5 separate regions of the Homo sapiens genome follow, and all the other regions are linked to region 1. The links are contacts of gene promoters, found by promoter capture Hi-C in blood cells and fetal thymus (Javierre and others, 2016). All regions are on one chromosome and are shown on one strand. Each heading gives the region's core, a stretch centred on a gene start or on the middle of the fragment in contact. The rest is flanking DNA. Distances are from core to core; before and after follow the strand shown.

Region 1 (5,808 bases), core at 2,632-5,131:
ATGGTGAAAATTGCCTGTGGTTTTAAAAGTAGTATCACCTGTGTTGCCACAAAATAATGATGAGGATTTCCCTCTTCAACCATGGAAAGCAGACATTCTGATCCACTCACTGCATTCTTGAAATGAGGACAATTTCGAACTTGGCATTTTTGTGCAATCAGTTTTGCCCCATATAAGTCCTTTCCCAATGTTTCTAGCTCTTTTAACACACATCTGAAAAGAAAAATTATAGCAGATACATTTCACTTGTTTACATAAGGTGTAAAAAACAATAGTCGATTTTTTCTTAAAATAAAACTATGCTGTTACAATCTAAATTTGTCATCTGGTAACCATTTACTTTAAAAGATCACTTGAAAAATGCATTTACCAAGTAGGAAGAACAACAGTTAAAATTAACTGAGCACTTATTATGTTCCATGTAGTATGCAAATTGCTCTTTACATAAATTCTTGATTAATCTCAAAGTAACCCTATGAAGTTAGGTCGCTTACCTTGAAATTATCCTTATTTTAGAGCACCCCATTCTGAGATTTCAAGTAACATGCCAAAGTTCAAGTAACTAGCAAGTGGTACCGAGACTTGCAGTTTGACAACAGCTCCCTTGTCCCAACCATAGCGTAATAAGCTTCTGCTTCAAGTACAAATTGGTATACTTTCAAAACATTTTCAATTCAGAACAGTAAAACTTCTCACATCATCAAGTTGTTTTTAAAAAAACATTTAGTCATAAGAGTTCCTCAACCCTAGCCAGCATTTGCCAGATTCTTTCTTGCTTCATCTCCTTTATCATCTTTCTGTTTCAAGAAGATTTTGCTTGCTTTAGTCATTAGACTTGACCTCTATTTTGAGTACTGCCAGCCTGTGGATGTCCTGCTATCAACTCTTCAAATTCACCATGTCTAAGATCAAACCACTTTCCTGTATCCAAATTTATCCTCCAAGACTTGCTATCTCTTTGAAATTACTATTTTCCCAGACACCCTAGATAGAAATCAGAAATCACATTTGACCTTCCTGCCCTTCTTCACCCATACTCCTATGCCATCAGCTGCTCAACCTATCTATCTCAGTAACGTAGCGTTTCTTTGGAGAACCCTTGGGTTCCTGCCTTTCCTCTCCCAGGTTTAGGCTCCCCTTACTTCTTGATTAAACAACCGCAAAACAGATTCATGCCTTTGCTCTCTTGTTTCTCCAATTTACCCTTCACATCACTGCAGTTATCTTTTCTAAAATAAAACCCAGGCCTGATAACATTCTGCTGTTCTACTTCATCAATTAACTCCACACATCTTCAAACCTGAATATCAGTAAACTCTGTAGAGACCTAACTACTAGTGGCCAAGAAATATATTCCACTGAAAAACGAATGACCTGATTTCTTAAAAACATAAATTGCAAAATTTAAAGGGAGGGGAAACTGCCAAAATTTTTAAAAACTGCCTGGCATGGTGGCTCATGCCTGTAATCCCCATGCTTTGGGGGCCGAGGTGGGTGGATCACCTGCGGTCAGGAGTTCAAGACGAGCCTGGTCAACGTGGTGAAACATTGTCTCTGCTAAAAAATACAAAAATTAGTAGGACGTGGTGTCACACATCTGTAATCTCAGCTACTTGGGAGGCTGATGTAGGGAAATCACTTGAACCCGGGAGGCGGAGGCTGCAGTGAGCCATGATCGCACCACTGCACTCCAGCCTGGGCAATAAAGTGAGACTCCATCTCAAAAATAAATTTTTTTAAAAAACTTAAGTGACATATAAATCAAATGTAATATATGTATTTAGTTTGAATACTGATTTTTAAAAGCCTTCTTTATCTTTTCAAGATACATGCCAAAGAAGTGATAAATAATATGCTCCAAAGCAACCCATCAGTAAGGAGAGGTGAGGGATTCAACAAGATTGGCCATGTTAATAACTGCAAAAGCTGGAGAGAGGTTTCATTATATTATTCTACCTTTGAGTTGTCTGAAAAATTCCAGAGTTAAAATAAATTTGTTAGAAAAATTGCTGTAGAATATAATTTTATGTGGCACTTCTCAACCTTTTTAATATCATAGCACTATATTTAAAATGTTAATATTTCTATGGCACACAGGAGTATATGGACAAATTGCTTGTAGACAAAAGCAATCAATTCAGGAGCAAAGACTACTGAAGGATTTGTTAGACAGCCCTAAAGACTAAGGGGATCAAAACTTTGGGGGTATCTGTAACCCAGCCGAGACCCTGCTTGAGAAATTCTGAACAAATACAGATAGCTGTTCATTAAGTAATCGTATGTGAGGAAAAGGAGACTATTAACACAGTATACACAGAAAAAGCCCATACTTTGTTATGGCTGTAGTTAGAGATGGGGGTTTCCTACGTTGCTCAGGCTCACCTCAAACTCCTAGACTCAGGCAACCCTCCTGTCTCAGCCTCCTGTGTAGCTACTAGGATTACAAGTGTGAGCCACCTTGCCTGGCTTAAAAGTCCATTCTTGTGCTTGTGTGAGTGTGTATAAAGAACTGGATGGATGACACTGCACATGTTAACAGTGATTATTCGTGAGTAGTGGTATTATGAGTCATTTTAATTTTCTTTTTTTGCTTTTTAAAAGTAAATATTCTACAATGAAAAAACTACTAAATTTCTTAATAGTTCTTCATGGCCTAGCCTCAATTTGCCTTCTTCCTAGTTTCACTCCCAAATATATTCTGTGCTGCAACCTCTTTCCCAGGCATTTCATAACTCCATTTCGTGTGAAGAGGTCTCCACAACAAGAAGTGTCATTCTTTTCTGTCATTCAAAATAGTTCTTCCTCTCAGAACTGAACAAGTGAATGGGCTCAAATGTTATCTGAAATCTGTCACAATTCTCTCCTCTCTCCTCTTCATCCCGACAAGCTTCCATCCTAAGTGTTCCCACATTTCAATGAAGTGGGGAAACATCAGACCTAGAGTGAAAACACACACTGCAGACTGACTTATGCACTTTACTGGCCATGAGGGAGCAGTATGTGGCATATAGGAGGTACTTAATAAAGCGAGTTGAATAAACAAATGTGCTTGGGCAGATTCCTTAATCTCAAGTACTGACTTTTTGCCCTGGACATCAAAGATGGTAACTCACAGGTTCACTGTGAGGCTTGCAGAGTTTTGGTTTAAACTAAGAAAAGCTATGCAAATGACAGCAACCATTTGAAGACGGGTACACTTTGGATACCGAAAAATGCTCTAGTACACTATACTCGTTTGAGCTTACAGCAATCTTCTAAGCAGTTATCATCTTTATTTTACAAATGAGGAATCCGAGGCTCAGAGAGGCTAAATAACTTGACAGAAATCACAGAGCTGGTAGAACTGGGATCAAGATTCGAAGTCGGATCTCTCTGCTATAATGTGCTCTCATTCGCCAGGCTAACGACACGTGATATTCACAGGGCACTGTCCAATCTGCCTCTATTATAGGTATTCGCCTGACCACCTTCACCTCTCCACTTAACTGTCAACTCCACGTGGGCGGGGCGTTTTGCACCTCCTGAGCTCGCAATGAAGGTCTGTGAGCAACGGCCTCGCCTCTACAACACCCGACGGACCCTCTGTGCCTCCTCCCCAGCCCCCCGGGCCCACCTTGTGGTGCACAGCTGCGTCTCCCCCATGAGGTAGCGGGGCAGCTGCTCCCGCAGCTGGATGCGGCCCCGCAGCGCCGCCTGACAGAAGGTGCCGTCCAGCAGGATCTGGTACGGCTCGCGGACTCCGAAGTTGTTGCGGAAGAAGCCAAGATGCTTCTTGGCATGTTTCTGCCTTGTGATCTTCATGCCTGGCTTACCGGGACCGAGGCCACCGGACCAGGAAGCATCAGTAAACGCCTCACGCACGCCCCAGTACCCTCAATGCCAGTTTCACCCGGAAATGAAGCGCCTTTGGCCACGGAAGCAAACGCCTCTGTCTTCCGGGCCTGCCCATTGGTTTACGTCATGTCCAGACCAGCGCGCGCTTCCACCGCAGTGCCCGCGCTTAAAGGGGCGGTCCCTTAGGGCGGAACTTGTGCGTACGCTGGAAAACCGCTGGGGTGCGCGATTCCGCACGGGGGCGCACATGCGCAGTCTGGGGCCACGGTAAAAGAAAATTACGAGAATACATTTAGCGTGTTACCTACGTTTTAGAGGCGCGTAGCAAGAGCTTCTCTGAAAGACTGGCAGTATAGTAGTAGTCAGTGATAATATTGAGCCTTAATATGTTCCAGACACTGTCCTAAGTGATTTACCTTACATTATTCCCCTGAATGTTTATAATTCCCAAGTGAAAGAAGGAAATGATATATTGGATAGCTATGAGTGGGGAGGTTTGTACTGGCTGCTTTCCCATAAAGAAATTAAGCACGTTCACGAAGGGCACGTAGTTTGTTAGTGTCTGGAACCCAGTTTTCGTGCCTGAAGTTCAAATGTTCTTGCTACACCACCATAGAAACTAACGTCACTCAGGAACCATTTGTCAGGGCAAAGGGTGCCACCATTTTGCATTTCCTCCTGCCTTAGGACCATCCTAAATCACTCGCATGGAGTGTTTTGGAAGAACTCTCAAGAGCTTCGTTTGCCTAGAGTCAGAATTCCTAACCTTGAGTCCTGGTTTTGCCACAAACCCAAGCCGTTTGATCTTGGGCAACTCCCGAAGAAAGCTGGGTTCAACTTCCTCACTGTCAAACTGGTTGTAGGTCTAGATAAGTTTCAAGTACTCTTTTTATGTGCATGGTCTCTGACATAGGAAGACTACATACTGGGCCAGTAACAGGAAGGCACAAAGCTGACTGGAGGTTTAAAAATTACTTGGTCAATTTGATTAATGAGGAGAATGAATCAGAAAATTTCAAGTTCTCCCGTGGCTAACTGTCGAGTATCCACTTCAAGGTAAAATAATCAAAGAATGGGGAGTATGGAATTTTGCATTTTTGTCCTTGCCTGGAATCTGTCCCAGATCTAGTTTTGGCTAAAGATTGAAAGAACCAGCACAGAAAATGATTTACAACGTGATTGAATGCATTGTTTGCATTTGGGGTTTTATTTCAATATGTAGGTTTATGAAATTGGAATAAGATCTATAATGTTAGCCCTGATCTGAGTCCCAGCACATCACTTAGATGGTTGCTTTCATTTAAACTTAAAATGAATTTAGGAATTGGAAGCCATGAAAACTTTTGCAGGGTTGGATTCAAGGTCTTTGAGTGTAATTGCTCAGTACTTTTCAATTTGAATCCTCTTTTTATCCCTGTATGCCAACTCTCTACTCCAACTATGCGCCCACCACAGACAGAGAAACGAGATACCACCTGAGTCTTGCAAAACAGTTAAAACATTTTTTCTTAAATAGCCTCAGATTTATCTACCAGCTCCTTGGCCACTTTTCAGTACTAAGAAAAATGTGGTGCAGCACTAGGGATTTTAGTCTTATCTTAGTTTTTGTTGTCGTTTTTTAATTTACCAAGCTACAGCACATTTTTTCCCCAAGCTCTATGTATATGACAGTGCCAGTTTGCACCCTATCTTTATTATGAAAACATGAAGATGGTCTATAATGGTGATTATCAAGTTTAAAACAAAGTTTTCGGCCGGGCATGGTGGCTCATGCCTGTAATACCAGAACTTCGGGAGCCCGAGGCGGGAGGATCACTTGAGCCCAGGAGTTGGAAACCAGCCTGGGCAAAATAGGGAGCCCCTGTCTCTGCTAAATTAAAAGAAGACAAAAAGAGAAAAAAATAGAGTTTTCTATTACAGCAGTGTTTCTCAAAACAAGGTCCTGGGATATGCAGAAAAAGCTCTTAGTGTGCT
Region 2 (5,660 bases), core at 619-3,118, 1.3 Mb after region 1:
ACTGCCAGTAATTTATCTTGAATAAAAATGATACCAAATATCACAAAAGGTCTCTGCCTTGGAACATACACATATATAAAAGAAATCTAGTAAATTGTTACCTGAACATGTGTGTTTACAGAGCATGTCAAAACCCCAGCACCATTTTTCTTGCCCCAACTCTAGCCAAGTCTTCTGCAAAAGCAAAGAGAGACTTTCATTCACAGCTAACCTCCCATGTAGCAGGCGCTATGAGAGGCTAAGTCAGTGGTGTCACCAACTTCTGCTTTTAAGCAGCGGCCTGTTTCACATACTTTTTTTATTTTTTTTGACACAGCAGGATCAAAACACATGTACTGCACCCCTCCCCCCTCCCCAGCACTGCCCCCTCCATCAGCCAAGTGCTCTGTTCCTCTGGCTATGACTGTGTCTGTCGACCTCAAAACAGCTCGTTGCCATATCTGATGAAGGATGACTCATTTCTTTCTGGTACCTCAAAACTTGCATAATTTCAATCAGCTGTTATTGGGTGGTTTGAAGAGATAAGCGTTCTTTAAGGCCAGGATATGGTGTAATATTTTTGGTAAAAATTCCCCAATCTCCTCTTTAGTAATAAGGCCTGAAACATGGTTCACTGTGGCTTTGAAGTGAGGGCAACCTGGGTTTATATCTTAGCCCTACTATTCAGCAGTTGCAAATTGCTTCTAAGCCTCAGTTTTCTCATCTATAAAGTGGAGGGAATAATAATAATAATGATAATAATACTTGCCTCTTAGGATCATTCTGAGGATATCAGATAATGAGACTAGGCCTATCATATGTTATCCTGCAAACATATGTGCAATGATGATTATTTAAAAAGGGACAAAGATAGTCAAACAAGAGTATTCTATTAAATAGTTGATTCAAAAATTCTTTTTTATTTAATTAATTTTCTATTTATCTATTTTAGAGACAGTGTCTCGCTCTGTTGCCCAGGCTGGAGTACAGTGACATGATTATAGCTCACTACAGTCTAGAACCCCTGGGCTCAAACCATCCTCTCTCCTCAGCCTCCAGAGTAGCTCAGATTATAGATGCATACCACCACACCCAACTAATTTTTTTTTTAACTTTTTGTAGAGACACGTTCTTGCTGTGTTTGCCTTGGTTGATCTCAAGCTCCTAGCCTCAAGCAATCCTCCCACCTTGACCTCCCAAAGCACTGGGATTACAGGCATGAGCTACCACGCCTGGCCAAAAATGCTTTTTAGAATATGATCCTGTCATATTGCCTAGACTTAGAGACCAGAATGTGTTCTTTGATGCTAGATAAGTCAAAGAACTATTGTCAGTTTTGTACTTCATCAATAAAAGGAGAGTAATAGTAATTAGTAATTCACCGTAAATCTGAACTGGGATAATATGTGTTAGGAGTTCTTAACCTTGGGATCTGGATCAGTCGGCACTCAAATCCACAGGAAATCTTTGGATACATTTTGTGAGGGACATGCTTTTGACCATGTTAAAGTTATTTGTAAATATTTTACACTTTATTTTTTTCTGGAGAGTGTCATACATTTCACCAAAAGATTGTATGATCCCCAAGAGTGTGAGAAACCATCGAGGAACCACTGAATTGTATATAGCTGCCTCGAGGGTGGCAACACTTCATAAACCAGTTATTATGTTAGATACTATGAAAAGAATTATTGATTTTTTTTCTGTTTTTTCCCAAAATAACCATTATATATTATAAAGGCAGCCCTAAAAAGGTGTAATACATGAAATATTAATAACTGTATCTGACTCTCTAATTAAATGCCTAGAAGCTGAGACTTTTGGCTTTTAGGACTTTTCTAGAAAGGTCTTCATCGCTGATATTTTTATTTTTAGAATATGAACCTATCCCAGAATAAATCTGCTTATTAAATATATTATATAAATAAAATATGCAACAAATTTATTAGAAGAATCAACTCTTGTGCTGTCACACTGAAGTTTAAGAGGTGCTAAAATTGTTTAACTGTGCCTCCAAAAGGCCTTTTAGTATTTTTTTCCTTCCAGTGTCAGATTTTGGCACTGGCATAGAAGAAAGTCCCCATAGAGCTACTTTCCAGCCATTGTTGTAGCTGAAGGAAGGGTGAAAACACATACAGGATGGCAAAAATAGAAGCTCTGAGAGACTTGAGTAGTTCTTTTAACAATAATGACTTTCACGTGGAATGAAAAAAAAGACAGTGCAGACATAAATTTTCAACCATATTTTTAGCTGTCCAAATGCATATTTGCTGTAAAGGCAGAACATTATTACAGAAACAGCGTGGTTAGAACTCCAGAAATCTGGGTTTTTCCAATTCTGATTCTATTATGTAATTTCATTATGACACAGGGTGTTTGGTTTGCTCCTTTACCAAATACAGGGTTAGCTACCAAATATGGGGTTAGTTAAAGAAGGGAGATGGGGTCCTCAGATCTGTGTAATAGGTTTTATATCTGTGTGATAAATTTCTAAAACCTTGAGATGTAAAGAATCTGTATGAATAAAGAGTGGGATATACATGGGGAAATAGTGATTTTCTGCTCTTTCACTCTGAGAATCACCAGTTACATCTCAGAAGAGATGGAGCTAATGTGTTTAGCACAGCAGCATTACCTGATATATCGGGTAGCTCCCTATGTGGCGACATTGTCAGTGGGATAAGTCTTAGGTGCATTCATATCTCAGTGCAAGGTATGATTACTGGAGTATGTATTGCCTCATGTCCTGGAACAAAAACTGTTCTATTGCTCTTAGCCAGAGATGCCAGTTTAGTTTACACTGGTCTCCATTATCATTGCTGATGTGTTGAGGAAGTGAATTTAATAAGCAGGGTAAACAGGTTTTGTTTCCAAGCTCTATGGTGATTATAAGATGGGTGCTTGGCTGAACCTGATAGAGTCCCTTCAGTTTTTTGGCAAGAAATCTGAGGGCAAAGAGGACTGTTTTAAAGCAGGCAAAGACATGCAGTACAGCCCATTTCAACGGATTCTTCACAATTTTATTTGAAACAAAAGTTGGCCAGGATATTGGTAAACTATTGCTTTCTGTTGGCAGAGTGCTTTCCCTGGTCTTGTTCAATTGTTGGCCAGCCTGTGCTCCTGGTAAGAGTCTGGCTATTAATCTAAAGGTGTTTATTGCAAACCACCATCTATTTTTAAGTTGTTTTAGCTCCTGAATTCAGTATATTCCATAGGGTCTACTGGTGTGTAGTCAACAGCTGGTTAATTCTATTTTGGAGGGGAAGAGGGGAGGGACATGGCCTTCGATGTCTCCTAGTGGCGCATGATAGAGATAAGAATAAAATAATATTCAACACTTATTGAATTATGGAATATCAACAATTATTGAATATCAACTACATATCTGACAGTCATGAACACATTAAGTCATGTCAACTCTATTGGTAATTAATAGAACAATGTGATTGATAGGACATTATTACTAATGTGAAAATAAGCAAGTATTAATTTGTTTCTGAAGTGACTTAAACTGTTACACGTTTTTACAAAGGAGCACAGGAAGTAACCCCTCTGATTATTAGGTAACTTTTAGCCTCTAAATGAGATTTATGAATGGGCAATACTTTGGTATCTTCAGGAAAGTTTCCACGTAATTCACATGATTTCAGCTGTCAATGTTCATGAACAATTTCTGTTTGTGTTGCTTTAGCTCCATAATTAGTATGTTTTTAGAAGATTCCACTGGAAAATCTGCAAGATTACAGACCATGTTTGTCTCACGCTGTGACCCTGGCTTGTAGCACAGTGCCAGGCACATGGTGGACACGCAATAATTACTCCCAGAACTTAATTGACTTAATTTACCACTGAAATTGTATTACTGTGAAATCGTACCAGAAGCTTTGCTCATAACCATCTATGCATTTCGCTAACATGAATGTTGCAAAGACTTTTTGATATAATCAGATAAACACAGAAAATATTTAAAGAGTTAAAAATATTTGAGGTATATTCATACTAACATTATATAAATCAGATTTCAGATTGATTCGATTTAAAATGGCTAAGATATAAAACCATAAAAAATGTGAGTAAATATTCTGCCTATCAGGGCTTGTTATGTAATTACATGGTTTCAGTATGGTTCTTATTCATAGAAAATTATTGTAAAAGATCATTTCTTCACAAATTCCTTCACCAATGGAAACCTTTAATATCTTGAAGATGAATATCCATGTCTGTAAATGTTAAGCCACTTTAATAAATCATTCAATCAAATTTACTTCATATTAATCAGATGAAATCAGTTCCTTTTCAAAATTTGGAGATTTGGAAACCTTAAAATTTTTATATTTGGCTGGTCTTCAAATAATAAAATAAAATAAGGAATAAAAACAGCCGACCCAATTTAAAATTTAAAAAAAAATGTCTTAAGTCATATCTGGGTTTCCTAACATGTATGCCAAGGCTCAGCTATTTATCAATGTTATATAGCTGACTGAAGATTTAAGTCTCCCAAAAGCAAAACTTAAATTGGAAACTTAGAGAAAATTTCAACTATTGTTACCCGCATGTTGGTGTTAGCCGTGAACCTAAAGACAAAAGGTGTTGTGTTTTGTTTGTTTGTTTGTTTGTTTTAAATACTTAGTCATTATACTTATTGGTTTACTCTAAAGGGGAGGAAAAAATTACACTGGATTTAAAGGGTATTCATATTAAAAGTTAGGTATGTCATTTTCTATATCTATTTGGATGATTGTTCAGATCCATCACCTACATTGCTGCTGTGAAAATCAGTATTGTGGCTATAATATTTGAAATACCGAAAGGGATCAAGTGCTCAAAAGACAGGCCAGTTATCACTGAAAAGCATTTGCCAGGCAATCACTGGCTTCGAAACTCCTTGCAGTTAACTGTTTGTACCATTATTCATCCTTTTTCACATAGGAAATTACCAGCCAACGGAAATGGCCTGGAGACAACACAAATGCAACCTAAATTGTACTGCTCAAAGCATTAAAAGAAAAGCAAACAATCATTTTCTCGAATTGTTGATTCCAGAATTTTTTCTGTAGCAATTTTTAGTTGAGCTGCCTCATGTAGCTTTGGGTTTTCAGCCAATCCTCCTTCACTCTTGCCCTCTGTTCAAACCACGTAGATGTGGAAGGTGAACTTAGAGAAGTTCAGGGGCAGAGATTGCAGCTACTCTTTGCGGCTTTACATGTGTGAGTGAGCAGTCTTCCCTCAGTCTGAGAGGAGAGAAAGTTTTGTGCTATATATGCCCCTCAGGAATGCCAATTGGTGTTATCGGCTAGCTACTTATTCCTATCCTTTTTCCCTCCCAGCACTGATCTTATCCATATGACCCATAATTCTTCCCTCTCAGGCACGAGGTGATGGAGGTACAAATTATTGTCTCTTAAGACAGCTTGTGGGAAAAGGAGAAATTTATTATTTAAACATAAACAGACACAGATAGAACCATCAGCAATTTGTGACTGTAATGTTAAAGATAAAAGAGAGCTGCCCCCAGCACTTAGCAAGTACCTGGCATCAGCTCCTTCTCAAAAATACATGTGGGGCTGGGTGCGGTGGCTCACACCTGTAATCCCAGCACTTTGGGAGGCAGAGGCCGGTGGATCACCTGAGGTCAGGAGTTGGAGACCAGGCTGGTCAACGTGGTGAAACCCGACCCCACT
Region 3 (5,297 bases), core at 772-3,271, 1.1 Mb after region 1:
AGGGTGAGGCGGCGGTGGGAGCTGTTTGAAGTGTAAAGCTGTTTTTGTGGCTGGGAAAGCTTTTTCGTTAGTACCTGTCTGAGATGGTGGTGTTTCCCCCTTTCCCCAGGGAAGTCAGCAACTGTTTTATGGCCCCAGGACTCTAAAGCAATTTAAGTTAGAGGGTGAGAAGGACTGGTGGGTTTCAGAGGGAATCTTGGACTTATTAAATTTTAGGACCGGCTTTACTTCCCTCTATCTTTTTAGGCCTCATATTTGATGCTTTGAAAGTTTTTTGAGTAAGCCATTGATCTTAATGATGAATCTAAATTATGATAGAATATTCATTCTTATGCCATTTTGGAAAATCACGGCTAGAGTTTAAGCGAGGTAAGTGAAGTGAGAAGCTCAGCGGAGGAGTTAAATCTGAGACAAGTTAGGCCTATTCATTGAACTTTTGTAGATTCATTGAACTTTTGTAAACACACCAGGTGAACAGGAAAGGAAAGGGTCTGGGAGAGATAATAAGTACAAAAGAAAAATACAGATAGGGCCTGAGACAAAATTACAAAGAAATGATAACTCTGGGCCTGGTTGTTGGCTAAAACTTGATTGTTCAAAGCAAAAATAAAATAGGAACCTTCCAACAATTCTTCAAAGTCCTCCAGCTCTGAAGCTAAAACCTATGGATCTTGCTGGCATCATGTTACTTTCCTGCTGGTTTTAGAAAAAGTTGATCATTTAGAAAAGGCTGCCAGAGTTAAAAATGCAAGGGACAGCAGAGGAAAGTCATGCGGGCAGCCAGTTCTTGACGTGGACAAAATGAGAATGAAAGTTTCTGAACTCACTGTTGTGAAGTTTTACATGCCGCTCATTTGCTTAGAAGGCTCTCTCAGATATTCCACCAGTTAACGTATAAAAGCAAACAGGATCTAAAATCGTGTGGGCTTTTTTTTTTTTCTTTCCCCAAGTATGCCAGGGTTGTGAATAAATACAGGGTTTGTATGGGAAGATGAAGCGTTTCCTGTAAGTTCTGATGCTGACAGGACAGTCTGGAAATGATACCAACATTTTGAGGATTTTTTTTTTTTACCTTTAAGTGAAAGTTTATTAATGATATGCTTAATCTTAACAAGTCAAACATATTCTTAGAGTTTCTCTCTCCTTGGATTTCATAACTTCCTTTTAAAGCTACACCTTTGGATAAAAACATCTCTAGATTCAGTTCAATATACAGGGCTAGTAACATGCTAAAGTTTGACGATTATTTCTGGATGTTAATAATGTGAAAATAAAACTCCTGAGGGGCAAATAGAGCCTTAATACCAACATTATAACTTGATTTCTCTGAATGTGAGGCCTTCTGAAGCTTCATTAGTACTCTGTTGGCGAAGTATTATTTACCACTGGCGAGCTGATGTTTATGGCTTCCTGATATGTATGTTATATGTTAGGATATATATGTGTAGACTGCTTTTCCATACATAATACCTAAGTCTAACACTTTTCAAATAAGTGGTGGAAAGTAGCAAGTTACTAACACAAAGTTTGTCACTCCTTTGAATTCTAGATGCTGTAAGGGTCTGTGCTACTATTTAGGTTTTGTCCTTTGTCTCTTAAAGGTAACGTTAAAGGTAAGGAGAAAAATGTCATAATAGCTGTGAAGTCTGAGCTGAATTTAGAACTTAGCATTTCGATGACTAATATTTTAAATGATTTTATAAAATTTTCTGCATACGTGTTTGAAAACCAGTTTAGGATCGGAATCAGTGTGCTAATCCGAAATAAGTTACACATACTACTACCATATTTTCAGTATTATTTAAGTCACCTACCACTCCTGAGTTTATTCTGATTTACATCATATAGATCTCTTCCTATAAGGAAATATTCATTCATAAGGAAGACCTTTAAAACAGGGAAATGCATGCATCTGTAGAAAAGCAGCTTTTACGATTCTAGTATTTCAGTGACGGTTCTATTATCACTACTATTATTAGATGTATATGTGTATGTGTGTACAGACATACAACCCACAATATGTGATTAATGATGTGTACATTTTTATTAAGAAAGCAACCAAAGACTGTAGATTTTTATAAACGCTTGTCTTACCTTCTTTGTTGTAAATAAACATTACTGAAAGTTTCCAGAGGACTTGCAGCAAATTGTTTTTGAACTAGAACTTTATTCCAAATTTGAAATTGGAATAAATGCTGATAACTGACCTTTAAACATTTTTCATAACATGAATATTTTAGAATAATTATATTTTAACTTCAGTTCTTCTTTTGATAGCAACAATAATGTAACAACACTATGCTATTACGTGTACAACAACACAGACTTTAAGAAAGTTATGGGCAGGTGTCTATAATTGATTTAAAGGAAAGATTATTTTTGTAATAAGTGATGAACTTAAAATGACTGGCTTACATTAAAACATATTCTTATTAAGATTTCTCTGGTGTGTAAAATGAAGCCATTCATTCAACAGGCTGACAACTTTCCACTTGGTATTTGCCTTTCCTTAATTTAGTTTCCGCAGGACAGCTAGTGTGGTAGTCTGCATCTGTTTTTAGCAGGCATAGAAAACTATAAACTCAGACAGTTCTGTCCCAAATATTGCAGCTCACAAGTTACAATCAATTTGATAAAAACCCGCAAGTTTTATGGGCTCGTATTTTGTTGTTCATCCTTGCTAGGTCAAGCTTTCAGGTAATAGGTTTCTTTTTCTCCCTCTTTTGCTGATGATAACTGCTAATACCATTGATAACTAATTCTGAGTCTTGTTTACTCATTTATCATCCTTATTTACCATTTGTTGAAGTTTTGGGAAATTAATGACAGCATACGTAGACTTGCGTTTACTTTGATGGCTTATCTGTGAAAATGACATTTATCTTTTGTTATTATACAGAAATAAGTAAATTCTTTGTTACCATAATAGTTATGATTTATGGAATTTTTGAGTCCCCCTTAGATATAGCATAAAGATGGTCTTCTAGCCTTTGCCAAGTAGACATTTAATCTAATTGTTTAAGAGTGCTTGTCATGTATAGAAAAGACTAACATACTTTGCAATTATTTACATTAAAAATTATGTAGAGGTTTGTTTTAGTGTAATTTTAAAAATAATTTGTCTCCCAAAAGCTGTAACCAGTGGATTAAAGTAAATAAGCTAAAATACCAAATCTTGTTTTATACCATTGTTCTATAGCAAACAGTGCTGCAGAGGATGTAACTACTTTTTAAAATTTATCCTCCGATGTAAGTAGGGCCAAAGTCATTTGTTTGTATAAAATATTCTATTAATTATATATGACCTTTATAAATAATATCTTCGATTTTATTATTATGATCACTTTTTGAGCTATCACAGTGCTCAGTTGTTCTCCTATTCCTGAGAACTGAATTTGGCCTTTAGTTTGGTTTTCTGATGGACACAATAATGTAGAACTTGACTTTGGTTAGAAAGAGATCTTTGAGCTTCAGGAATCTCTGAAGGTGCAGTAGGATCTACAGGTGAAAACCATTTGAATTGTTAAGCATTAGTTAGGTGAAGAAACTCTACTGGTCCCTGCAGCATATAGCAGCTATTATCGTAGCGGTCTACTTTTTGCTATCCCAGTTTTTTTTTTTTTTTTTTTTTTCCTTTTCCAAGAGCACAAATCCAAATAGCAAAAATGAAGGTGAAATTATCTATGTACTTCAAATTTGGAGCATCATTTGAAATCATTTTCTGATTCTAAGCTATAACTGAAATACAAATATAACATTAAGACACCCCAAAGAAGACATTAAGGATACACTTGTCGTTCTTAAGTGTGTTTCACTAAAAATAATAACAAAAAACTTTTAATTTTTAAAATGTTTCTAGCTTTTAAAAACCTGCAGTAAATACTTTACAAGTGGCTAGACACCTTCCCTGGTGGTTTAGTTTATACAAGCAGGAAACTTTCTCTCCTACTCTTTCTCTCTCTCTTTCTTGTTTTCTTTAAACCAACTGACGTAATGCCAAACTTTGCTTTAAAAGAACAGACAGAAGTAATTGGTAGCTTTTAACTTTTAATAATGTTCTGGATTGGTTTTAGTGGCCAAAATGCCATTTAAAAAAAAAAAAAAGTTCAAGTAAGAACGGGCTTGTGGCCTGAGGAAGAAAGGCTCTGTTGATGCAGTTATTTTTATTCTTGTTTTTCAATCTGTTATTAAAAATCTTTCCTGCTGAGCACTGCTGGATTTCTCCAATTGCTCTTTGTGATGGCTGGTGCATTTCAGGTTACCGTAACTTAAACAGTTTTTGGGTTTTGGGGAAAGTGGGTATTTGCGTTGCATTATTTCTTTCTTATTTGGAAAAAAAATCCATTTGTTTTTGTTTCAATGGAGATTAATTAATTAAGGTTATCAATGGCCACAGGTCAAAGAATATGTTTATATAACGAATGCGACACCTGTTAGCAAGAGCCTAAAATGTGGAAGTTTAAATGTGACATTAATCATTTTTATGTGCAGAGGAAGGAAAATAGATGAAACTTTACGAAAATGCATTTTTAGATTGAAAACATTAATTTTAAGGGTCAGTGCGTTTCTACAGGCAGCTCTTTTTTTCTTACAATTTTAGATGATAATTTTTTAACCCTATTTATCAAACAGTATTTATAGTTTCCTTTTTTTTTTTTTTTTATAAATAGTCATTTCTTTCTCTCTGACTTTGCACAGGCAAACAGAACTTTCTCCAGTTAAGAGACATCTTGGTGATGTTGATTGACATCAGGGCAACTTCAGAAGCTGGCAAGTAGGAAAATCTTTTTAGGGGGCAAAAAGATTTGTGCTAGTGTTCTCTTCCTTGGGAAAAGACACTCCACCCAGAAATTATTGGGTTTAGTGGAAGGCCCTCCGCCCCATTCGGTGGCTCAGAACTAAGTACTGTTTCGACTTTTCTTTTGTGAATTGTTCCTGAGGTTTAAATCTTACGGTTACTTGTCGTGGACTTTGCTTTTAACCCAAATTCTTCCTGATAGATTTTTTTTTTCCTTCTTTACCTAGAGCACATTTAAGGAATAATATATATAGTGAAAATTAAGTGTCACACAAGGAAGAGTACAGTCTTTAAGGCATTTATGACTATAAAAAGCATTCCGCAAATTTGGGGCATTGAAGTGTTCTCTGCTTATAAATTTGACAGTTTTGATTTACTTGATATGTTTCTCAGTTTTTCTTGCGAGAGTTACAGACTCTAGTTCAAATCGTAGGCATTCCTTTTTTGCTTATGGCTTCTTTAGTTAAAGATTTGTTTGGAAAAACTTTAGGAACTTAAT
Region 4 (5,482 bases), core at 2,462-4,961, 1.3 Mb after region 1:
TCCTTGGGAATATAGTGCAAGAAGAAACACCAATCATTCTCCCTTCTGCTGCAGTTTGGGATTTTGTTGACATTGGTATTTCATGTTTATTACATGGATTGAAGGCAACTGAATTCATGTTAGTTACATTATATTTACAAAAGTTCAATTTAATTTCTATTCAAATACTTAATATTATGAGTGCCTGACTACATTTCAGATATTTCCAAAAGGATGGAAGTAAGAGAATAGGCAAACTGAAACAATCTTTTTTGAAAATATTTTTGTAACAGGTTTCTATAAGAAGGTGTGGGTACAAGTGTTTACATTTTGTGTGGTTAGATCCACCACAAGATTATGAGTATCTTAAGAACAGGTCCCATGCCTTATTCATTTTTGTGTCATTCCCATTCCCCATAACAATACTTGGGAAAAAGGAGTTAAATGTTTTTGAAGATGAAATAGTAATTAAAGTTCACATGTATATTGATATGTCTTTTCTGCAATAGTAAACTAATCCCATTAAGATATATATTTAAGACAGATTTTTGTAGGCAAGTATGCAGTAGTCTTACATGACCATATATTTATGGAATTCAATATATGCACACACAAACTTTAATGGAGTAAGTTTTGACCAAAATCTAAGAGTATGATAGATAATGCCAAATACAGAAAATATTCATATATATATATAGTAGTTGGTGGTGGAGACAGATAAAATACATAGTATTTTCCGGCCAAAAATATTATGGTGATTCATTGAACTTTTTCACTCATGAGCATGAATTTTTTAGCTCAAAAAAAAACCATGAAGCATAATTTTCTATTTTTCACATTCATTTTAGAGGGAAGAATGATACAGTTATTTCTAGAAATAGTTGTCTAAGAACAATGAATTTCTTCTCTTTATGATAGGGTCCATTTTAAATTATGTTCATTTATGTCCAATTCTTGAAGAAATAAGGCCAAGCTTTGAATTTATAGTCCGCAAATTTTCTTTTTTAAAAACAAACTAGTTCCTAAGGAATGCAGATTTTTTTAAAAGGCAACCAAAACCTAAAAAACTTCTCTCCTTTTTTGTCCTCTTATTGCTTAAAAAAGTACATGAACATACTGTTTTTAAATTTAGGCTTTTAAAAAATTGTCCTCATGCTGAGTTCTTGTTTGCCAAGTTTCAGCTTGGAGAGAATTTTTATAGCTTTTATAAAACCCTGAAAATAGAAAATTTTAAATGGAAATGCTTACACACCCTTAGTGACAGCCACAAATCTTGCCACTTTTTGAGAATGAAGGTAATTTTTTAGTATTTAGGGATGGTAGCAACACGTTGATGCGATAGTTTCTAAAGGACAGAGCTTTTGTTTAGTCGTATGTTAGATATGTTACATTGGTTTATCATATTAAGATTCATATTAAGATTTAGCTGTATGTTCATACATTTCGTATGTGATATAAAAGTTTTAAATTTTAGAGTGCATTTGTCCTCTACCACATATAGTTTATATGTAGAAATATGTCTTATCCATCTTTTTGATATGTCACCTATTATTTAACTTGACTAGCAATTTAACTTGCAAGCGATTCACCCTAGAAGTTAGATTTATTGTAGTTGAATAAACTGTTGTCCTCTCACTTTTATCATATAAACCAAAGGGTCAGTTGCCCTTTGGGGAAACCCAGAATATGTCAGATCTTTGTCAGGTCGCTGTGGGTCTTTGTCAGGTCCCAACTCTGTCACAGGGATTTTAGGCAACTAGAACCACAGGTGTCACTTCCAAAATTGATAGCTTGTTATACTGCAACCAGAGTCAATTTTAGATTGGAGAAGAGAAAGAAAAAGATAGGAAATGATTGAAGCTGTGGGCACCAAGAAAGGGCAGTGCTGGAAAGAGAATGAATGACATAGACACCCAATAACAGGGAGCGTTGGTCATTTTTGCATGGACCAAAACAAAATTGAAGAAGTACTGCTGATCAAAGGCCAATACAATGCACACATATCATTCTGGTTAGGTTGTCTCCTGAGAAAAATATTTCTCAGCAGCAGTATGATTTATTTTGAACAATATCTGATTGAACAGCATTCTAGTAATGTAGAAAATTTATAGACATCTACTAAATTTTATTCTAGCAGATAATCCACATTAAAAGAGACAAAAGTCCATGTTTTACCTAGAACCTCTCTGTGGCTCCTTTTCTCCACCAGAAAGACAATAATTTCATATCTGGCAGAAGTTAATGCTTTTTAAGTTCTTGACGTGTATACTCTGTGGAAGAAGTGACCTAAAAGGAAAACCAAATAGTTTGATAAAGGATAACTGTAAAGAACAAAAAAAGTAAAACAAACTACTATAAGACTAATAGTCCTTGAGACAAGCGCATGAATTAGTGATGAAGTATTGCTTTACTACATCCTGAAAATTCTTTACATTTATTTCTTCAGTTGAATGAAGCTTTCTAATATCTGTGTCTGGAACTAATTCTGATAACCTTGGCATTCAAAATGGAGATAAAGGATAGATAGCCTTCCACAAAACGCTTCAGTATGGCAAGAAGAATCATCTAATATTGACAAATAAAGCAACGTGACATCTGTGTTGAATTCCAAATTGACTTGTTGAGCTGTGCAAAAAAGTAAAAGAAGGTGCTTATTTTCAGGATGTGAAATACATTGGGAAAAGCCAAGGTCAAAGATGAAACATGACTCAATGCCAAAGATTTTCAATCTTAATGAAAATCTCTTTCAATAAGAAATTGACGATTGAGAAACAGTGTCATTGTTAGAAGTTCGATGTTCTTTTGGGGGTCTAACAGACGAAGCCCCAGAGAACTGACTTTTATTAATAGATAGCTTAAGATTTATAGCTTAGGAAGAACAGATTAATAGTTTTTGGAGTAAAGCCTGAATTATAGAAGGATGACCTGAGCCCTGGCATGAGTGATCAATCAGTTCAGTGTCTGCAACTGCACAATTTTAAGAACTCTTAAAAGGCTCTTTGGCCACTGAAAATGCATTATAAAGGATAAGTCCATAACCAGCCAAGTCTGGAATATATGTTTATATGGCTATACAGATCCAGTGTTTCTTTAAAAATAAAGCAAAGGGTATGACACAGGTTGGTTTGCTGTTACTTAGGATATGTACGATTGAATTGAGCCTAAGATAAGTGGGATGTACTGGGTAAAATGTGGATGCTGGAGGAGGATGCACAGAGGCTAATTTGAATCCAGGAGATTTTTCCATTTAGGAAATAGAATTGGAGTCAGGGAAGTAAAAATCTTGAATACAAAGCTAAGAAATTGAATTTTCCTTGTTAATCAGGGTTCAACCATTGATGTTTACAAATGAGAAAAATGTTTCATGCAGGTTAATCCTACTGCAATATTGGCAGGAAAGGTGGAGGTCAGCGGGAAGAGACCTCTGGAAACCTGTTGAAGAATGAGTACTTCCAGGGTAAAGCTACAGCAGGCAGGACAGCAGAGTGGTGGCCTAGGCATTGGAGATAAAGGCAAAGATAAAACACAGATGGAAGGAAAATTCCTAAGGCACCATGAGACACTGGATATTGAGTGAGAGAGAATCCAAAGAACGAAGAATCACTCACGTCGAGCTCAGCCTACTAGGACGTCAATGGGTTCCTTATTTGTTTTCTGTAACTCTCTTCTCAAAATGGATCAACTTCTTTCAAACTTCCCTAGTGCAAATTCTGGTTTGGTTACTTTTCTTTTCTGTAAAATGATAAGAACATTAATTAGTCTTGAAGGAACCATTTACTGCATTGCAGATGATTAGAAAATTGACAATACCAACAAAAATTGAATTGGATTCTTTAGGTTTAATATTTGGCCTAAACTAACATATTTCACCTGCCATGTGCCACACTCACTGATTATTCCTGAGATATTCACCAAACCCTTCCCCACACTTGGCAGTGAGTTCATTAATGACAGGTATTTATTTTTTATCTGTCTCCATAGCCTCAACACTTAATAACATTCCTAGCACTTAACAGATGTTCCATAAATGATGATTAAATGAATAAATAGAAGCCTAGTGTGATTCCCAGCTTTGCCTGGAATAGGTCCTGCTCCAATAGGAACTCTTATACCTCTTTAAAGAGATAAGGAGTTCGGCTTCAGGGAAAACACCTTGTAGACTCCATTTATCATTACTTTTCTAGGTTGTTGTCATACAGGAAAAAAGAAATGATCTGACACATTTCTTTCCAGCCTTACACACTAATACAGTATAAGGAGCCACAGAGAGGAATTTTAAGATTTTTTTTAAGGGAGAGTATTTGATTGGCCAAGATGTTTGTTTAATTCAAGAGAAGGAAAGCCCCAAATGCTGCCTAAACATAAACTCACAATTCAAAACATTTTAGAAATTATCTGGCAACTTTACATAGAGTCCAAATGTTTCCAGGGTATGCAGAAAGATGCCCCAAAGTCTTAAGTACCCCCAGGGAAAGTAGATCAAAGTTTAGAGACCATTTAGACTCACTTCCAAAAGGATCTGGCCTCAGAGTTTTGCAGTAGTGAGCAAAAATTCTAGAAAGGTCTAGGTTCAGAAACCATAGCAAAGTTACAAGAGAAAGGTTTTCTAGCTTCTGTTTCTTATGCCATTCAACAAGATTTAGAAGGAAATGCAGCCAAATTTAATGGTCGTTACCTGATGAAAAACAGACATCCTTTGGATTATCCTCAAGCAGAACTGAACAGAACTAAATGCAATTAGAAGACTCCACGGAGGCCAAGATGATCAGATGATCGAGGAAAGCAAACTGATATAAAATATAAGCTCACCATGTTAGGTAACTCATGTGTTTCCAACATGGTGCTATTAGAGGAGCATTAGAGAAATTTACTGTATCATGAAGTGCACATTCGTTTCCTCGGCTGAGGACAGTACTACGACAATATTTGACAGGAAATGTAGAGAATTTTTATTTCAGTCAACTCTAAAAAGAATGGCGAAATTCTTGAAGCTGTGTATGATGATTCTCTATTAATATTCTTTGTTCAATCTTTAAAATGGCGTTTATTTCTCAAAGGAAAGTTCGTGCCATCAATATTGATTCCATTATATTTGTGATATACATCAAGTTTTATCTTCAGAGTGAAAAGTTCTTTGTATATCTTTGTAGTAAACACAGATTTTGTTCTCATTTTGAACATGCACTAATTTCTACATGAACTAAATTTCTACATGAACTGGGCACATTGGCTTAATTTAAATAAACATGTTAAGGTGGTCATTACTATTCAAGAGTCACCAATGTTCTGATTTTTTATTTTATGTTCTGCTTTTTTATTTTAGACAGGCAAGTTGTTAGCATTTTTTTCAAGGAACAAAGAACAAAAATTATCTTGATAAGAACTTGTTTCTGAAAAGCTAGATTAGCTCTTCTCTGCACACCAATCATGCAATGACAGTACAATTTAGTGACTTAAGCAGTACATTAGGATTCTCAGCCTAGGCAGAAGCTTCACCCTCGGG
Region 5 (5,459 bases), core at 2,840-5,339, 1.3 Mb before region 1:
TTATAACTGAATGTTTATATTCTTTGACTAACATCTCCCGATTGCCCCAAACTCCCAGACCATGGCAACCACCATTATACTCTCTGCTTCTGTGAGTTTGACTTTTTTAGGTTCCACATATGGGTCAGATCCACACAGAAGTGCAGTATTTGTGTTTCTATATCTTGCTTCTTTCACTGAGCATAAGGTTCATCCCTGTTGTCGCAACTGGTAGGATTTCCTGCTTCTTATGGCTGAATAATATTCCATTGCATATATGTACCACATTGTCTTTATTCATTCATCAATCAACAGACATTTGGGTTGTTGCCACGTATTGGTTATCGTGAATAACACTGTAGTGAACACGGGAATGCAGATATCTTTTTGACATGTTGATTTCATTTCCTTTGGATATATACCCAGAAGTAAGATTGCTAGATGATATATGGTAATTACACTTTTAAATTTTTGAGAATTTCCCTATCATTTTCTACAATGGCCATATGAATTTACAGTCCCACCAACAGTGTGCAAGGGTTCTGTTTTCTTCATGTTGCCCCATTGTTATCTTTTGTCTTTCTGATTACAGCCATTCTAATAGGTATGAGGTAGTATCTCACTGTGGTTTTAATGTGTATTTCCCTGATAATTAACGATGTTGAACACATTTTTATATACCCATTGGCCATTTGAATGTCTTTTTTGAAAAATGTTTATTTAGGTCCTTTGCTTTTTTTTTTTTTTTTTGCTATTGAGTTGTGTGAGTTCTTTGTATATTTTGGATATTAACCCCATATCAGCATTTGGTTTGCAAATATTTCCTTTCCTTCTGTTGGCTGCCTTTTCATTTGTTGATTGTTTCCTTTACTGACTGTGCAGAAGATTGTTAGTTTGATGTATTTCACTTGTTTATTTTTGCTTTTGTTGCCTGTACTTATGAGCTCTTTCTTTTCGAGTTTGTACAAGTGCTGTGATGAAGCTGAATTTTACTAAGTCATTCATTCATTTGAATCAGTGATTGAGCTTCACTTAAGTGCCAGGTACTGCCCTTGGCATTTGGGATAAAGGAGTGAGTAGGACAAACAGTGCTCCTCCTCTCAGGGGCTTCCTTACTGTGAAAAGTTAACAAGCAAACGAACAGAGGAGATTTCAGCTAATAAGGGTTAGGAAAAAATAAAACAGAGGAGACAAAATGATGATACCATTGTAGGGGCTACTTTTAAGATTACAGTTGGAGTTTGAAAAGTGGAACTTAGGCTAATGGTGTTACACATGTAGAGCAATTTACAGTTTACAAATTGAGGCCAGGCACGGCGGCTCACGCCTATAATCCTAGCACTTTGGGAAGCTGAGGCAGACGGATCACATGAGGTCAGGAGTTCGAGACCAGCCATGGCCAACATGGCAAAACCCCATCTCTACTAAAAATACAAAAATTAGCCGGGTATGGTGGCGGTTGCCTGTAATCCCAGCAATTCGGGAGACTGAGGCAGGATAATCACTTGAACCCGGGAGGTGGAGGTTGTAGTAAGCTGAGACCACACTGCTGCACATTCCAGCCTGGGTAATAGAGCAAGACTCTGTTAAAAAGAAAAGAAAGAAAAAAAAAACTGCTGGCAAGAAAGATATTATTATCCTGACTTTTCAAACGAGAAACTGGAGGTCCACTGAAATTAAGCCACATGCCCAAGGTACTAGTAAATGGCAGATCTGGGGTCTGAATTCAAGTTTTCTCTAATTGTCAGCACCAAAGTTTTTCTGACAGTACACAACACTTTGGGATGTACAAGTAGAGATGGGTAACACTGGGGTCTGGGATAAGGAAATTAGCCATAATTAGGCAAGAAAAGCAGGAAGCACATGCCAAAACATAAACAGAACACAAAAGAGCAAGGAGGGTAGCTAGCTCCCCCTAAGGTCATGCAAAACAACTGGCAAGATATAGAGGGGCCAGGCGAGGTGGCTCATGCTGTAATCCCAGCACTTTGGGAGGCCAAGGTGGGCAGATCACTTGAGGTCAGGAGTTCGAGACCAGCCTTGCCAATACAGCAAAACCCCATCTCTACCAAAAATAAACAAAAATTAGCCAGGGCTGGTGGTGCACACCTGTAATCCCAGCTACTCCGGAGGCTGAGGGAGGCAAATCACTTGAATCTGGGAGGCAGAGTTTCTAGTGAGCCGAGATCCTGCCACTGCACTCCAGCATATATATATATATATATATATATATATATATAGAGAGAGAGAGAGAGAGAGAGAGAGAGAGAGAGAGAGAGAGAGAGAGAGAGCACCTCCAGTCCCACAGCCCCACTTCACAGGGCTGAGATAATCTGCACCCTGATCAGAAGAGAAGGCCTCCTGCCTTGAACTGTTGTTCTTAGCAACTTGGGCTGGGGGGAGCTTTGGGTCACATGTGGTTTCAATCACTGCCTTTATCTGCATCATTGTCACTGTATTTGGAAGATGACTGAATCCTTATTCCTGTCCCAGGCCTCTCTACATTGTGCAGGGGGTTCAAGTCAAATCTGGAAAAGCTGTCTCATCTTTGGCAGGTCAGAAATAGGGAGAGGCTTCACGAATGTATAGTAATGTCCCACCCATGCCCCTTCCCTGCTTTATTAAAACAAATCTGAAACAACAGAGGTCTGAAACTTTCCACTCTATCATTTCATACTGCCTTGTTATAACCCTGCCCTTCATCCACACCCCGCTGGGGTTTTTGCAGCCTGAGGGAAGCCGGGAAGTGTCTGCTCCTAGCTCTCAGTCACTCCCATAATAAACAATCACTAAACAGCCGGCTGCCCTAGGCAACTGTCTAGCTTGCCCGAGCCCTGAGACTTTAGCTAGGCCAGAGGGTGGGAGGTGTTTTCTGTAAAGCAGTGTTCAGGATCTGAGGCCAGGGAGTTTGACTTTGACCAGAGATACTGTTTGGGAGCCTAGCACATCTTTGTGGACCTGGAGGATCTTTAGCGGGACTGCTCCTCGGTTACCTGAGTTATCTAATGAAGTTCTTCCACTGGGAGTGGCAGGAGCTTGGGCCAAGGAGTGGGAGGTCAGTGAGGGAAGGACCAACTATTTGGCACTAATTGTACATAAGGTAGTTTTCCTGATGCAAGTGTTCCTTCTATAGCTGGGACAGTTGGCAATTCTACCAGTCATATGTCCTTAAGAGATATCTTTAACACCACCACCACCACCACCACCACCAAGAGAATAACATCACTTTGAGGACTGGGGCAAGCTTAAATTAACTGGTTTCCCTGCAGCCATTAGAAAATTTATTTTTTCTCTGTGATTGGATCTCTTGGAAGCTTTCTTCATAATAGACAGAGGGGGCTCAGGCAAGGCGGCCTAAGTAGATAATGAGGATTTAGGATAGCCGTCTTACACTCTTAGCACAGAGGCAGGCATGAAGAATTGCAACAATTCCTCTTGATTGTAATAATTCCTCTTTATTGTTGGGCATTGGGGTGTTTCTTTGGTTTAAAAAAATGTGCTATGTAGAGGAGGAGTAAGGGGAGATTGTTTTAATGCTTAGCAGAAAATTGAAATACTGGGTCTCGGAGAGTGGAAGGAGGGCTGGGAGAGGCAGCTTTCGGATCGGCGGTCGCTTTCTATGAAGTCTTCCTTTCCTCCCTGCTTCCCTCCTTCAAAGCATCTTTCTCTAGGCGTTCCGGCAGGCAGCCCAGGAGGCCAGATTCTCCAGGGCGCCCGGGGCCGCGCGGCACGGGGCCCCTGCCGGTGCCTCCTTCCCCGGCCGCCGCGTTTCCGCAGGCGCCTCTGGTCCCCGGCACGGCGCAGGCCGAGATCCGGGCCTGGGCGCGCCGAGGGGCCGCGGGGCTCGCACCGGGCCGTCCCGCGCTCCACCTGCCCGGCAGCCCGCCGGCAGCTTGCAACCCGGGAGCCCCGGCTCCCTGCGCCCCCTACGCCCCCAACGCCGCGCCGGCGCCTCGGCCCGCGGCCGGGGGTTATGAATGGGCGCAGCGGAAGCACCGCCCCCCCCGGACGTGACGCTCGGCCAATGGCAGCGCGGGCTGCGTGGATGGATGAGGTCAGCGCTGTCGTGTCGGGAATGGAATGTGTAAGTGTAACATTCAGAACCGGGTAACATTCGGCGACCGAACGCGGCGGTCGGCAGCGTTCGCGCGGGGGCCTGCGAAGCGCTGCTCGGGGCCGGCACTGCCCGCGGGGAGGACGCGCCGCCGCCGCCACCCAGCGCCGCCGCCGCCGCCGCCTCCAGCCGGGCCGCCGCGCGTCCCGGGGGCCGGCCCCGCGAGCGCAGGAGTAAACACCGCCGGAGTCTTGGAGCCGCTGCAGAAGGGAATAAAGAGAGATGCAGGGATTTGTGAGGTTACGGCGCCCCAGCTGCAAGATGCACTAGCCGGCTGAACCCGGGATCGGCTGACTTGTTGGAACCGGAGTGCTCTGCACGGAGAGTGGTGGATGAGTTGAAGTTGCCTTCCCGGGGCTCATTTTCCACGCTGCCGAGAGGAATCCGAGAGGCAAGGCAATCACTTCGTCTTGCCATTGATTGGGTATCGGGAGCTTTTTTTTTCTCCCCTCTCTCTTTCTTTTCCTCCGTCTTGTTGCATGCAAGAAAATTACAGTCCGCTGCTCGCCCGCCCTGGGTGCGAGATATTCAGCCCCGCTCTCTCCCGTGCATTGTGCAACCCAAAGATGAAAGACCGAAGGGGAGAAAGTTAAAGAAATCGCCCACATGCGCTGGATCAGTCCACGGCTTGGGGAAAGGCATCCAGAGAAGGTGGGAGCGGAGAGTTTGAAGTCTTTACAGGCGGGAAGATGGCGGACTGGAGCTGAAAGTGTTGATTGGGAAACTTGGGTGATTCTTGTGTTTATTTACAATCCTCTTGACCCAGGCAGGACACATGCAGGCCAAAAAACGCTATTTCATCCTGCTCTCAGCTGGCTCTTGTCTCGCCCTTTTGTTTTATTTCGGAGGCTTGCAGTTTAGGGCATCGAGGAGCCACAGCCGGAGAGAAGAACACAGCGGTAGGAATGGCTTGCACCACCCCAGTCCGGATCATTTCTGGCCCCGCTTCCCGGACGCTCTGCGCCCCTTCGTTCCTTGGGATCAATTGGAAAACGAGGATTCCAGCGTGCACATTTCCCCCCGGCAGAAGCGAGATGCCAACTCCAGCATCTACAAAGGCAAGAAGTGCCGCATGGAGTCCTGCTTCGATTTCACCCTTTGCAAGAAAAACGGCTTCAAAGTCTACGTATACCCACAGCAAAAAGGGGAGAAAATCGCCGAAAGTTACCAAAACATTCTAGCGGCCATCGAGGGCTCCAGGTTCTACACCTCGGACCCCAGCCAGGCGTGCCTCTTTGTCCTGAGTCTGGATACTTTAGACAGAGACCAGTTGTCACCTCAGTATGTGCACAATTTGAGATCCAAAGTGCAGAGTCTCCACTTGTGGAACAATGGTAGGAATCATTTAATTTTTAATTTATATTCC

The links. Contacts are between HindIII fragments. The CHiCAGO score rates a contact against its expected background, and 5 or more counts as called.
Region 2: a contact is called between a fragment that was not itself captured here and the fragment with the promoter of UTP23 in region 1, in 1 of 17 cell types (monocytes). The highest score is 5.2, in monocytes.
Region 3: a fragment that was not itself captured here is called in contact with the fragment with the promoter of UTP23 in region 1 in 2 of 17 cell types (total CD4 T cells and fetal thymus); the score reaches 7.1 in total CD4 T cells.
Region 4: a contact is called between the fragment with the promoter of TRPS1-AS1 here and the fragment with the promoter of UTP23 in region 1, in 1 of 17 cell types (monocytes). The highest score is 5.1, in monocytes.
Region 5: a contact is called between the fragment with the promoter of EXT1 here and the fragment with the promoter of UTP23 in region 1, in 10 of 17 cell types (naive B cells, non-activated CD4 T cells, naive CD4 T cells and 7 more). The highest score is 13.5, in naive B cells.

What each region holds. Positions count from the first base shown.
Region 1 is chr8:116,764,597-116,770,404 of GRCh38, reverse strand. UTP23 (UTP23 small subunit processome component) reads right to left here and starts at 3,881. Exons shown (of 3, transcript NM_032334.3): 1 at 3,614-3,881; 2 at 39-213. The coding sequence starts at 3,801. It also overlaps a transcript of EIF3H not described here. RefSeq lists enhancers at 3,495-3,804, 3,815-3,964. The HindIII fragment of the contact is 9,967 bases long and covers 2,890-5,808 here.
Region 2 is chr8:115,422,547-115,428,206 of GRCh38, reverse strand. All of the region lies in intron 5 of TRPS1 (transcriptional repressor GATA binding 1), which reads left to right. Among named protein-coding and RNA genes, the nearest start is that of TRPS1-AS1, 84 kb to the left of the region's middle. RefSeq lists an enhancer at 309-358. The HindIII fragment of the contact is 3,991 bases long and covers 1-3,863 here.
Region 3 is chr8:115,662,057-115,667,353 of GRCh38, reverse strand. All of the region lies in intron 1 of TRPS1 (transcriptional repressor GATA binding 1), which reads left to right. Among named protein-coding and RNA genes, the nearest start is that of TRPS1, 4.3 kb to the left of the region's middle. RefSeq lists an enhancer at 922-1,011. The HindIII fragment of the contact is 1,342 bases long and covers 1,351-2,692 here.
Region 4 is chr8:115,507,832-115,513,313 of GRCh38, reverse strand. TRPS1-AS1 (TRPS1 antisense RNA 1) reads right to left here and starts at 3,711. Exons shown (of 2, transcript NR_186605.1): 1 at 3,588-3,711; 2 at 1,989-2,265. The region is part of intron 5 of TRPS1 (transcriptional repressor GATA binding 1); the gene reads left to right. The HindIII fragment of the contact is 3,034 bases long and covers 2,438-5,471 here.
Region 5 is chr8:118,110,456-118,115,914 of GRCh38, reverse strand. EXT1 (exostosin glycosyltransferase 1) reads left to right here and starts at 4,089. Exons shown (of 11, transcript NM_000127.3): 1 at 4,089-5,459. The coding sequence starts at 4,869. RefSeq lists silencers at 3,667-4,046, 4,147-4,236. The HindIII fragment of the contact is 5,337 bases long and covers 3,296-5,459 here.